Linked DNA regions of Homo sapiens: all the other regions are linked to region 2. Evidence: promoter capture Hi-C in human tissues and cell types (Jung and others, 2019). All regions are on one chromosome and are shown on one strand. Each heading gives the region's core, a stretch centred on a gene start or on the middle of the fragment in contact. The rest is flanking DNA. Distances are from core to core; before and after follow the strand shown. Region 1 holds the start of RBFOX2 (RNA binding fox-1 homolog 2). Region 2 holds the start of TXN2 (thioredoxin 2). Region 3 has its middle 22 kb from the start of APOL3. Region 4 has its middle 19 kb from the start of APOL4.

Region 1 (3,267 bases), core at 104-2,603, 450 kb before region 2:
TTTCAATCCAGAATTGAGAATCCAGTCTTCTAATAGCCCTATAAAAAAATTTTTTTTATAGCCCGGGACATTAAAGAGCTATTTTGTGTCCTGGTGATGTAGAATGCAATTGGCAAAGAACAGGAGGGACATGTCTAGTGTCTCCCTTCAGACTCATTAGTATGCTCCACAAAGTAAATGAGACTGAGCACCACCGTGTCCCCATAACATTACCAAACTCCTTGTACTTCTCACACTCTGTGTGATTTAACCCACAATCTCAGCCACATCCCCTCGGGGCTCTCTCGAGGAGTTTTCTTTTCACTCCTCTCATTGAAATGCCACTTCTCTTCCCCATCCCAGCGTGTGCCCAGGGCTGCCAAAAGGTACTCCCTCTTCTCGGGAGGTTTCCCACCAGATCTCCTTTTCCTCGACTCAGTCCAGAGAAGCCAGGATTTCCCGGCTTCCACTCCACCCCAAGGCACTAAGGAAGGATTTGAAAAAATGGAATCCATCTCAACCTTGTTCGATTTCCCCCCAAAACCTATCCACTCGTCGTGCCTCCTGGCCCCTCAGGAATCAGGACCCTCTCGGGCACACCAGGTTCAGTCCTGCAACCTTCGTTCCTAGCCCGAGCTCGCCCCACCTTCCAACCAGGCCCCGAATGGCCCCCCATCCCACCTCCAACCCAGGACTCCCGGAGGCCCTCCCTCTCTCCAAGCCGGGGAGCCCGGTGTCGACCCTCACGCCCACCCCCGCAATAACTGGGCGCCCCGTCCCGCGCGGTCACCTGCATCCCGCCGCCACCGTCGGCCGCCGCCTCCTCAGTGCGCGGCCGCTTGCTCAGGCCGGGATCGGCTCCGTCTCCTCCCGCTCCGGGCACCGGCAGCTCCAGCTCCGACTCCCGCTTCATGCCCCGGGCGGCGGCGCCGGGCCCGAGCTGAGGCGGCTGATGCGGCTGGGCGCCCTCCGCCATCCGCCCGCGCCCCCCTCGCCTCCGGGAGCCGGGCGACCCGCGACAGGCCACCTCCCCCTGGGCCTCGGCCCCGACTGTCGCGACAGGCGGGCGCGCGCCTGCCCCCGCCCCCGCGTGCGTGCGTGCGTGCGCGCGAGCGGACTCCGCGCCCCTCCGCGCCTCGCGGCCGCCGCTCCTTGCCTGACCGCTTGCTCCCCGCCCGCCCGCCCGCCGGGTTGTCGGCGCGGGGCCACTGGCGGGTCGTGATGAGCACTCGCTCGCGCCCCCGCACGCACACGCGAAACCCGGCCCGGCCCGCCGCGCCGCCCCGCCTCTCGCACTCCCGGAGCTCGCCCACCGGCCGCGCTGGCTCACACTCTCCCTCACAGCACGCCGGCCGAGGGAGGAAGGGGGCGGTCCGGGCTCCCGAGGCGTGGGGAGGGCTGTTTATTTTGGGGGGAGGAGGGGCGCGAGGCAGGAACGAGCTGACTGGCCGGGATCCTCCGACCCGCCACTGTGGCAGCACCGGGAAGGCGGGGAGAGAGAAAGAGGGAGGGAGGGAGGGACCGGGATGTAGAACTCCAGCCCGCGCGGGAGGCTACGGCGAGGGGGGCGGTGGCGGCCCGCGGGGGGGGCGGGGCCAGGCCCCCTCGGCAATCTCCGTAGTCTCCTCGCTGGCTGCCCGAGGGAGGCCGGGAAGCGATCGGGGAAGCTCGGGAATCTCCGGCACGGGCCTGGGATTGTCCTGGAGGCACAGCGCGGCTGGAGTGCGGGGCAGCGCGGGGGGGGCGGGGTCTGTCTCCTTTCTGGGCGGGGCCGTATCCTGGAGCAGGCGGGGCTTGAGAGACCCGAAGGCCAGGGAGTGGCTCCTGCTTGCGGTACTAGTTGTACAGAGTTAAGTCCTGAGTTTACTCGCCTGAGCACCTTGGTTCCCGGAGAGGGAATGGGCACTCTGTGAGAGGCAGGCTATTTGCCTGCTTCCCCTCCCGCAGAAGAAAAAATGTCTCAAATTGGAAGGTCGAGGAATGAAGCCACCCCTCTATGGTTCACCCCAGTTCTGAGAGCTTTTACTCTAATATAACTCACATTCCTAATGAAGTTAGTAATAATACCCGATGTTTGTAAGAGCTTTAGAGTTTGCACAATGCATCCACAGACCCGTTTCAAACTGGTGATATAAGTAGATACCATGATCTCCATTTCATTGATGATGAAACTGAACCTTAGTTAAATCCTGCAGCAAAAAAGTGGCAGATCCGGAATTCAGAACACGAGAACATATTCTCTTTCTTCGTACCTTGCTGCCTGAGGAGCACTTTATGACTTACCAACTTCGTGGAGATAGAGATATCTGTGCAATAGATTCTCTCCCCTACCAGACTGTGAGGACAAGGACTGCAGTGACTTCCTCTGAGTTCCATATCGTGCCCTGTACGTTATAGAAATAAAAGGATATTGCGTGAATAACCTGGATTCTAATCTTGGCTTTGCTAACTAGCTTAAACAAGTTACTTCATCTCTTTGGACCTCAGCTCCATCATTTGTAAAATGAGATGGTTTGGATCAGTGGCTTTCAACCAAGGAGAAATTTTGCCATTCCACCACCTCCACTCCCACATTTGTCAGTGACTGAAGGCATTTTTTTTTTTTTTTTTTTTTTTTTTTTTGAGACAGAGTCTCGCTCTGTCGCCCAGGCTTAAGTGCAGTGGCGCGATCTCGGCTGACTGCAACCTCTGCCTCCTGGGTTCAAGCGATTCTCCTGCCTCAGCCTCCCCAGTAGCTGGGACTACAGGTGTGCGCCACCAACTAATTTTTGTATTTTTAGTAGAGATGGGGTTTCACCATGTTGGCCAGGCTGGTCTCGAACTCCTGACTTCAGGTGATCCGCCTGCCTCGGCCTCCCAAAGTGCTGAGATTACAGGAGTTAGCTGCCGCGCCTGGCCGACTGAAGGCATTTTTGATTGTTACAGTGGGGAGGTGCTGCTGGCATCTAGTGTGTAGAAGCCAGGAATGTTGCTTGACATCCTATCATGCACAGGACGGTCCCCCCAGGAGAGTTATCCAACCCCAAATGTCAATAGTGCGGAGGTTGAGAAACGCTGGGTTAGATGATTTCCAAGGTCATTTCCAACCAGTGTGTGATTTGGCCTTTGAACCTGGGTTTAACCTGGCTGGGGCTGGAACAGTACAACAGTAAAGATCCCTGCTTCAGAGTCAGACCAACCCAGATGAGAACGCAGGCTTCCCACCTCCTGCCCACGTAATCTGGGACCAGTGGTGACTAAGAACTTCCATATAAAAGGTGTTTGGGGATTGCAGACTGGTTGGAAGGG
Region 2 (3,417 bases), core at 262-2,761:
CGCCTTGGCCTCCCAAAGTGCTGGGATTACAGGCATGAGCCACCGCACCCGGCCGACACTGATAACTTTTTGCCAGCCCTTCTTGCGGTTTTCATGGCAGGATGTTAACATCAGCTTATCTGCAGGGCCAGGAACTGGTATACACCAAAAGCAAGGTGACAGTCATATTTTTCCAACTCTGGTCCATGCTAAAGATGACGCTGAGCTTTCTGGGGATTGAGAAACAGAACATGTGTTTCCCAGCACTAACAGTCAGCTTTGCAGACTGTTCACTTGTCTGTCTTCCACCAGACTGCATTCCCCTTGAGGGCAGGGACTGGGCCTGACCAGTCTGTATATTGAGTCTACATATGAGCAGCATAGAACATGGCCGTGGGACACAGCAGGCATTCAATAAATACTTGAACAAGTAGGACCCTAGTCTTCTGTGGACCCCCAATACTCACTGTGCGTGGAAATCCACAACCACTGGTGTCTCACTGTTGACCACTCGGTCTTGAAAGTCAGGTCCATCCTGGATATTAAAGGTTGTCAAGGAGATCCTCGTGGTGTATATTGTCCGGGCTGGGTTGGGTGTTACAGTCAGGCCACCAGGACTGCATTGTGGGGTCTGCAGGGCTCTGGAAGTGAGGGGTGGCCACTGACCCTGAGAGGGCTTCCTGGAGATGACAGAGGCCAGGAACCTCCTCAGAAGAAGTCGCTGAGCCATCTGTGAGGGAAAGAGGCAGAAGAACTGGGGCACACAAAAGGAAGTCGACACACTAGAAAAAGATTTGGGGAGTACTCAGGGCTCAGGAAGAGGCAGAGTTGGAAGCAAAATGCAAGGAAATCATATGTAAGATTTGTAGCGTGGAAGTGAGGAAGCAATGAGAATCAAAGGGAAGGAACAGCTAGGCAAACCAGAAGGACAGGAAAACTGGCTTCACAACCAAAAAGAAATCGGGATTTAGATTATAACGGAAGAATGGGAGGAAGAAACCAACAGATTTAATAATGTATGTAAGGACCAAGTACCTTACACACATTATTGGTCTTCCTACAGCAACTTCCAGGAAGTTGCTATTGTACTGCCCACACTGCGAGTAAGGGAAGGAATACGAGGCTCAAGTAAGTTAAGTGACATGCCCAAAGTAACCCCGCTATTAAATGACAGCCAACACTGGAACCCAGGGTCGTCTGAAAAGATGAAACGCAACAATTCAAGGAGGAACTAAGAGTGTGAGAGGAACCAAAAACGAAGAGACATGTACTGGAGGGAACCAATAAAGAAGGGACATGTGTGGAGGGAACTGGGAAAAATCGGACATCACCAGGGACCCTGGCTCTCCGGCGAGCTAGATCCCCCCGCCCGCCCGGCCGCCAGCCTGCGCAGGAACGCGCTCGCGGCATGCCTCAGCCGCGACACCACCTCGAGCCACCCCCACAGGGCTCCTACCTCCCTGCAATGCGAGCGGAGGGATGCACAGCCTAGCCCTCCCTGCCTGTCAAGGGCACGCCTGTCGTCACTTCCTCGGGGGGGGACGTACATAACGTCACTTCCGGGTACAGGCAGGCGGAAGAGCGTCCCTCTCCAATTTTTTTTTTTTTTTTTTTTTTTTTTGAGCCAGAGTCTCGCTCTGTTGCCAGGCTGGGGTGCAGTGGCGCGATCTCGGCTCACTGCAACCTCCGCCTTCCGGGTTCAAGCGATTCTCCTGCCTCAGCCTCCCGACTAGAGGCGCGCGCCACCACGCCCAGCTAATTTTTTTATTTTTAGTAGAGACGGGGTTTCACCACGTTGGCCAGGACGGTCTCGATCTTTTGACCTCGTGATCCGCCCGCCTCGGCTTCTCAGAGGGTTGTGATTACGGGCGTGAGCCACAGCGCCCATCTGTCCCTCTCCAATTTGAGGGGCGTCTGGGATTTTCCGCCAATGGGAATGGCGGGCTGAGGCACAGTTGAAGGGGCGGGGCCTCAGCTACGGACCGGAAGCAATGGGCAGGCCGTCGGGGAACGGATTGGAAGAGGCGGGCGGGCCCTGGTCTGGGCGAAGGCGGGGGCGGGGCGGGGCGGAAACGGAAGGGGTGGGCGGGCCCTAGAGGAGGGACCGGAAGAGGAGGTGATGGAGCAGGGGTAGCAATGGAGGGTACTTAAGGGAGAAAAGGCAGTTGAGAAGTCCCCGTGGTTTTGGATTTTGCAAACTCTTGTTGCTTTATTTTATTTACATATATTTATTTATTAATGACAGAGTCTCGCTCTGTCTCCCAGGCTACAGTGCAGTGGCGTGATCTCCGCTCACTGCAACATCCAAATCCCGGGTTCAAGTGATTTTCCTGCCTCAGCCTCCCAGGTAGCTGGGATTACAGGCGCGCGCCACCACGCCGGGCTGATTTTTGTATTTTTAGTAGAGACGGAGTTTCGCCATGTTGGCCAGGCTGGTCTGGAACTCCTGAGCTCAAGTGATCCGCCCGCTTCAGCCTCCCAAAGTGCTGGGATTACAGGCGTGAGCCACCTTGCCTGGCCTCCTGTTTATAACTGGCGCTGTCCACTTCCTACAGATGTTGACAGGTTCTGTTTCTCCATTTAATATGTAAAGCTAAGCTCCTCAAAGGCATGATGCCCTTTATATGTAAAAGAACTCAACCGGGAGTTTAGGGGCCATCCTTTAAGTGGCCCTCGTCTGTGTCCGCCTAAAGGAAAACAAATGAAAACTGAGGCGAGCCTAATTTAAGCAGGGAGTTTTTTTGGGTCAAGTTCGAAGACTGCAACTCGGAGCAGAGATTCAAGTTGTCCTGAATATACACTCGGATTAGCAGCAGCTGAAAGAGCGTTTTTAAAAGAACAGGCAGTTTCCAAATTGTTGATCAAAGTTTTTTTTTTTTTTTTTTTTTTTTTTGAGACAGAGTCTCGCTCTTGTTGCCCAGGCTGGAGTGCAGTGGCGCGATCTCGGCTCACTGCAACCTCTGCCTCCTGGGTTCAAGGGATTCTTCTCCCTCTGCCTCCCCAGTAGCTGGGACTACAGGCGTGCCTCACCACGCCTAGCTAATTTTTATATTTTTAGTAGAGACGGAGTTTCACCATGTTGGCTAGGATGGTCTCGATCTATTGACCTCATGATCTGCCCACCTGGGCCTCCCAAAGTGCTGGAATTACAGGCGTGAGCCACTGCACCCAGCCTTTTTTTTTTTTTTTTTGAGACGGAGTCTTGCTCTGTAGCTAGGCTGGAGTGCAGTGGCATGATCTTGGCTCACCGCAACCTCCACCTCCAGGGTTCAAGGGATTCTCCTGCCTCAGCCCCCCAAGTACTTGGGATTACAGGCGAGCACCACCACACCTGGCTAATTTTTTATATTTTTGGTACAGAAATTTTATATTTCACCATGTTGGCCAGGCTGGTCTCGAACTCCTGACCTTAAGTTATCGCTCGCCTCGGCTTCCCAA
Region 3 (3,100 bases), core at 437-2,936, 340 kb before region 2:
TCCATACCCAGAATTTTCCCCATTTCCTGTAATAGCCAGAATTCATGGAGCTGGGCAGTCAGAGGTTAAGATGAGGGTGATAGCTCTATGGTTACCCACAATAAACCACTTTCAAAAATTTTGTTTATGATACATACTCCTAACTCACAGACTTTTAGGTCTGGAAGTTTCAGTATCTAAGGTTGACAAAAGTTGTTTCAGCAGAAACCATAGCTGGCTTCTCATGCTCCCTGATGTAGGGATAGCAATGACGTCACTGGGTTGGATATAATCATGCATCATGTTCCTCCAGGGAAGCTCATGTTGTTATTACACAGCAGGACAGGAGGAATTGAGGGATCCCCTAGGATTGCTCCTTGTAATACTCTAAAGTGTTAGAGTATTAGTGTAAATGTGAATAGGAAATTTCACCAACTTACTGAGGCCAGACCATCAAGGAGCTTAGACACCACGAGAATGACTTTGCCCATAAGTAAGAGGAACATTGAGTGGAACAATTCAAGACTTCTGATGGTGGCAGCAATGGTCAGTAGTGGCTGTAGCCTTGACCGTACCTCTTTATTTTCTACAAATATACACACACAAAAATTCTGAGACAGAAGCTGCCAATGGACCAAAAGAAAAATTGATCGTGTGCTGAGGCCCTCCTCCTGTGACATAACTTCAGCATGCAGAAGGTGGAGATGCTGTGTGTGGCTCTCACTGGGGAAGAGGCAAGTGCATTTGCCTTTTTCCTTGGGATGGCTGGGTTCATAGCAGATAAGGAGAGTTCTTTTTGTTTGTATGAGAAGAAGAGTGTGTGTGCAGTAGCAAGCGATTGACTGTATACAATGAGCACAAATTCAGGTGGCTGTTTGGCCAGAGGCTTCCCATTAGGGTTTGTGTCTCTGTTACCCATCCCCATTCCTGATACCATAGCCTCACTGATTAGTTCAAGAAGAGTCACTAACCCAAGCTATTCTGTCTACTGAGTATGTGAAACTTTAATCAGAGACACTAGGAATCAAAGTGTGTGGAGCTAAGCCAGGTGCAGGCAGAGCCCTGAAAGGGCAAACCATATATTCCTGATGTTGGTAATGGTCTGCTCCTGTCCTTCCAAATTCTGTAGATTTTGTTCTTCCTTCCATCCTCTGACCTGCTCTAGTTTTCATCCAATGAATCTTCTATTTTGTTTAAGACAGATAGTTTCTGTTTCTGTTGCTTGCAATTGAAAAATTTTTAAACAATACTAGCAGTACAGTGGAATTGCATCAAATGCAGGTAGCCTGATGGCATTTCAACTCTAAGTGTCAGGGCAAATGCTGGCTGGATCACTGAAGAAGTAAATTACTCAGTGCCAGAAACATTCAAAGCTTAAGTGAAATGTATGAAAAGAATGGGAATTATCCAGGAATTGATGAACAATTGACAGACAAATGAAACACAATGTTCTGGCGTTAGGCAAGTCGGTGGCCGTTGCTCTGTTGACTTCTTCAGGAAGAAATAGATGAATCAACTGAAGGTCAGGGAAGCCTTGGCTGATGGAGAGTTACAGGGACTGAGGCAAGTGTTCTGCAGGATGCTACATAAAAAAGGACTAAGTAGGCCCTGGGTGCACTTTACGAGTGACTTAGGAGAGGTTCTGGGGTGATTTTGTGCATTCTGTATCTCTTGCCCCTGCTCTGGGCTCCAGCTGAGGCGCCCAGCAGTTCTATATTCTATGCATGGAAATACAGATAATTAATGTCCACTGGGGCAAGGCCATGGGGGACAGGAGCAGTGGTTACAGGCCTCCCTCTCTCCTCCCTGTAGAGGAACATTCTGAAGACGCTCCTTGAAGACTCCTCAGGAGGTCTCCAGTCGCCCACATGGGTGACCCTATCAAGAATTTCTCCCGGCATCAGCCTTCTGTCCTTCTCTGTGTCACTCCTCCCAGTACCCCAGTCCTGCTCCTAGAATCACTTCCCAAACAAATCCTCTGCCTGGGAGCCTTGCCTAGGGCTCTCCCTTCAGGGGAACTCAGGCCACAGCAGCCTACATTAGACAGCATGAAGGCTCTGGGCTTTTGTGCTAAGAGTAATAGGAAGCCATTGAAGACATGGAAGCATGGGCTTGAAGAAATCTATGTTCTTACGGGGCAAATTGGCCCAGTGTGGAGGATGGGCAGGGATAGTGGCAAGGGCTGTATAACAGGGAAGACCATTCTGGAAGCTTTTGCAGGAGTCTGGGTGAAATGAGAGGGCTGACTGGATGAGGGTGTTTGCAGACTGGATGAGGGTGTTTGCAGACTGGATGAGGGTGTTTGCTGTCTGGCTATCTCTCTCTGTTCCTCTATTTCTCATGGACTTTCTCTCAACCTACACACAGGCCCCTCTGATTTTAGTCAGCCTTGTGTGACCCATGTCATTCGTGGGCCCTGGCTGCTAGATGGGGACCATGCCTGCACTTGGGCCAAGCCAGATGTCTACAAGCTTTCCCTGAGTGCCTCACAGGCCACTGGGCACTGGGGTCGCCCAGAAATGACCGACCAGAAGAACAAGCAGAAGGGGCCATGGAGGCCTAGCTCCCTGAGTCCCTGGAAGAAGGATCATGAGGAAGTGAAGTCAGGCACCGAGAGCCCAGGGGAGCCCATCCATCAGCACCACAAAGGCACAGGCATAGATCAGTGTTGCTTGAACCCAGATCTCCAGAACACAAGAGGAGAGAGCCAGGTGGACCTGAGATATCATCTTGTCCAGCCCCTCTTTCCCAGCTGATGAGGAAACTGAGGCTCAGAGAGGCGGGGTCTCTTGACTGCAGGCTGGTTCATCTCCTCAATGCACCACAAAGTTCCTTGATTGGTTCCTGGCATCTGGTTTTGCTTTTCTCTTCCTTGTTTTTTTTTGGGGGGGGGACGCGGGGGATGGAGTCTCGCTCTGTCTCCCAGACTGGAGTGCATTGGCGCCATCTCGGCTCACTGCAACCTCCTCCTCTTGAGTTCAAGCAATCCGCCTGCCTCAGCCTCCTTAGTAGCTAAGATTACAGGCACCCACCACCATGCCCAGCTAATTTTTGTATTTTTAGTAGAGAAGGGGTTTCACTGTGTTGTCCTGGCTGGTCTCCAACTACTGACCTCAGGTGA
Region 4 (3,154 bases), core at 655-3,154, 260 kb before region 2:
CTCGCTCTTGTTAATTGGATGATCCAGGTGGGGAGCATCCAGACCTGCGTTCGCTTCCAGTTGTTTTTCTTCCCTTGGTTTAAGCAAAATGATACAATATTTAGGCCAAATGTTTTAGTTCTACTTTGAGATGTAAAATCTCTATCTGATGTCACCTAAGATTTGTTCCTTTAGAGTGCGAACTTTGGGCCATCTGGCTGACAATTGCTGAGGCAATAAAACAGGTTATCAAGAAATTGGTGGGCTGGGCGTGGTGGCTCACACCTGTAATCCCAGCACTTTGGGAGGCAGAGGTGGGCAGATCACAAGGTCAGGAGATCGAGACCACCCTGGCTAACACGGTGAAATGCCGTCTCTACTAAAAATACAAAAAATTAGCCGGGCGTAGTGACAGGTGCCTGTAGTCCCAGCTACTCAGAGGGTGAGGCAGGAGAATGGTGTGAACCCAGGAGGCGGAGCCTGCAGTGAGCCAAGATGGCACCACTGCACTCCAGCCTGGGCGACAGAGTGAGACTCTGTCTCAAAAAAAAAGAAAGAAGGAAAGAAAGAAAGAGATAAAGAAAGAAAGAGAGAGAGAGAGAGAAAGAAAGAGAGAGAGAGAGAGAAAGAAAGAAAGAAAGAAAGAAAGAAAGAAAGAAAGAAAGAAAGAAAGAAAGAAAGAAAAAAAAAGAAAGAAAGAAATTAGTAATCTAAAGTGGGGGAGAAAAATTTGGAAAAGTGACAAATAAAAAATCTTACAAATCTACAGGATCTGGGTCTGTACGCATCTCTGTGTGTCTATGTATTTATATGTGTTATAGGTATATAATATTTCCCCATCAAAATATATAGAAGGGTCTAATTAATTGGCTTGCCAAAAAAAGCACTTAAATCCAATATTTTATCAGAAAAATAGAAACTTTCATTTGAATAGCATTCACTTCATGTGACTTTAATAATCTTTGCTAGAGACAGTTTAAAAATTATTGGTAAAATAGAAATGTCTTCAAAACTTAATTTAGATATCTGGGCTGAATTAGTCAAGCAGGTCAGATACTATTGTCTGCTAGATGTATTAGGATAAAAAAGTTTGCTTCTGTAATACTTTTAAAGCTTGCTTATCTCATCTGTAAACCTATGTGTCTTGAGAATCAAGCCTTTGGACTAACCCCAGGCATTGCCCTTCATCCTGGGATACGCATCTGGTGCATAATTAAAACTGTTTACCTCCTAGATTCTTCAATAAAAATAAGAGTTACCAAGAGTTCACATTACAATTAATGTATGTAATTAAAACATTACATCTATTGCTGCCTAGACCACCTTCTGGCTATACACAAAGTGTATTGTGATGGTTAATATGAGGTGTGAACATCACTAGACGGAGGAATGCCTAGATGGCTGGTAAAGGATTGTTTCTGGGCGTGTCTGTGAGGGTGTTGTCAAAGGAGATTGACATTTGGGTCCGTGAACTAAGAGAAGAAGACACACCCTGAATGTGGGCAGTACCATCCCATCAGCTGCCAGTGAGGCCAGAACAAAGCAAGCAGAAGAGAAAAGGGTGAGCAGCTTGCTCATCACTCTCTCTGTCTTCCCGTGCTGGATGCTTCCTTCCTCTCCTCCTGCCCTTGGACATCAGACTTCCTGGTCTTTGGCCTTTGGACTCTGGGACTTGCACCAGCGGCCTCCTGGAGGATTACAGGGCTTCATCCTAAGACCGAGACCTACGCAGTCGGCTTCTCTGGTTTTGAGGCTTTTAGACTTGGACTGAGTCACACTACGGGCTTCTGTCTTTCCCCAGCTTGCCAAGAGCCTGTTGTGGGATTTCTGCTCGTAATCATGTGAGCCAGTTCTCCCTAATAAACTCACTTCTATGTGTATTTCTGTGTGTACATGTATTCTATTGACCATGTCACTCTGGAGAACTCTGACTAATGAATGTATTAAAGAGATAGGATGTGTTTTGATAAAAGGGTTGAAAGAGGGCATGGGACTGTGGTTCTTTTTAAGAAAACATCATTTTGTTTAGTTTAGAGGTTTTAAGGATCATTTCAAGTTAAAAGAAAGATATGGCAAAAAAGAAATTTTAAGCAAATTGTAGTAGGTTTGTGGAAGATTGATCTCATAAAAGAAACCATGTGTGATGAAGTTTGGCTAAAATTTAAAAGAAATCATTTAGTTTTTCTATAAATTGAACATGAACATAAATAGCACATGGATGCTGGGCCAGCCTCTGAACCTCTGTGTCAGAGTAATAGGGAATACTCGGTATATTGATCTGCTCTTTAACAGAAAAATCTTAAAAGCTATAAAAGATTTATGGAAATTTTACCTCATGATCAAACTAATTAAAATTTGATAGATTTGTTTATAGGATTGTATAAAATGAGCTTCAGCATTACTAATCCATTAATACAAAGGTAACATTTAGTTTTTCTCTTTTGAACAAGATTTTTGTGTAATATCAAAACATGATGGAAGAGTTTTGTTTGCCTGTTGAGCAAACTATAAAAGAGAAAGAAATGAGAGAGAGAAACAGATTCAGTTGGCCTCATGTTGTCTATATGATGTCTTATTCTTTGGGAAACTGAGTCTTCTGTCCATCACAGAGAAAAGGTTTCTGCTTTTTTGAAATCTTTAATTCTGTGTCCTTTCTCTCTGGATCATTCCAATACATACCTCTACTCTTCAGTTGGTCAGAGGATGTTTAAGTCTAATTTGTTTTTGTTCTTGCATTTGCTTTTGTCTTGGTTTTGCTTTGCTGTGTGCTGCTTGCATCCAAAGGATCTTGACTGATTTAAAAAAAAATGATACCAACCAGTTGGTTGCAGATAACAGACCCTCAGGATGGTTGGTATTTGTGGAATTAGCGTTCAGGCTGAGAGGGAGGGGGAACAACAGTGAAACTCCCCACGCCGACCAGCATAGCACCTGCTGCCACCTGGTGGAACGTGGCTGAGACAAGGAACGCTGGGACCTGAAGCAGGACCTACACTTCAAACAAACATCTGGCTTTGAAATGTTTCCTGAAGGCATCAAATAAATTGTGGCTGTCGATGTTGTTGGCTGACTCTCCTCCTATGAGAATAAAATTCAGAGACTGATTCTGTAGGTTTCTGGTTGCATGATAAATTTCATCCTAGCCAGATCTTCTAAGTGCAGCTGAGGGCCCTGA

What was found. The method cuts DNA at HindIII sites, captures the fragments that hold promoters and counts their contacts. A contact is called where the count stands out against the background at its distance.
Region 1: a contact is called between the fragment with the promoter of RBFOX2 here and the fragment with the promoter of TXN2 in region 2, in 1 of the 25 tissues and cell types used here (bladder).
Region 3: a fragment that was not itself captured here is called in contact with the fragment with the promoter of TXN2 in region 2 in 1 of the 25 tissues and cell types used here (mesendoderm cells).
Region 4: a contact is called between a fragment that was not itself captured here and the fragment with the promoter of TXN2 in region 2, in 1 of the 25 tissues and cell types used here (mesenchymal stem cells).

Annotation. Positions count from the first base shown.
Region 1 is chr22:36,027,471-36,030,737 of GRCh38, forward strand. It overlaps RBFOX2 (RNA binding fox-1 homolog 2), which reads right to left and starts at 1,354. Exons shown (of 14, transcript NM_001349999.2): 1 at 770-1,354. The coding sequence starts at 955. RefSeq lists a silencer at 1,520-1,589. The HindIII fragment of the contact is 7,839 bases long and covers 1-3,267 here.
Region 2 is chr22:36,480,129-36,483,545 of GRCh38, forward strand. TXN2 (thioredoxin 2) reads right to left here and starts at 1,512. Exons shown (of 4, transcript NM_012473.4): 1 at 1,436-1,512; 2 at 447-709. The coding sequence starts at 709. RefSeq lists an enhancer at 1,942-2,888. The HindIII fragment of the contact is 22,621 bases long and covers 1-3,417 here.
Region 3 is chr22:36,136,923-36,140,022 of GRCh38, forward strand. No RefSeq gene overlaps it. Among named protein-coding and RNA genes, the nearest start is that of APOL3, 22 kb to the right of the region's middle. The HindIII fragment of the contact is 4,055 bases long and covers 1-3,100 here.
Region 4 is chr22:36,219,059-36,222,212 of GRCh38, forward strand. No RefSeq gene overlaps it. Among named protein-coding and RNA genes, the nearest start is that of APOL4, 19 kb to the left of the region's middle. RefSeq lists an enhancer at 3,030-3,154. The HindIII fragment of the contact is 3,793 bases long and covers 9-3,154 here.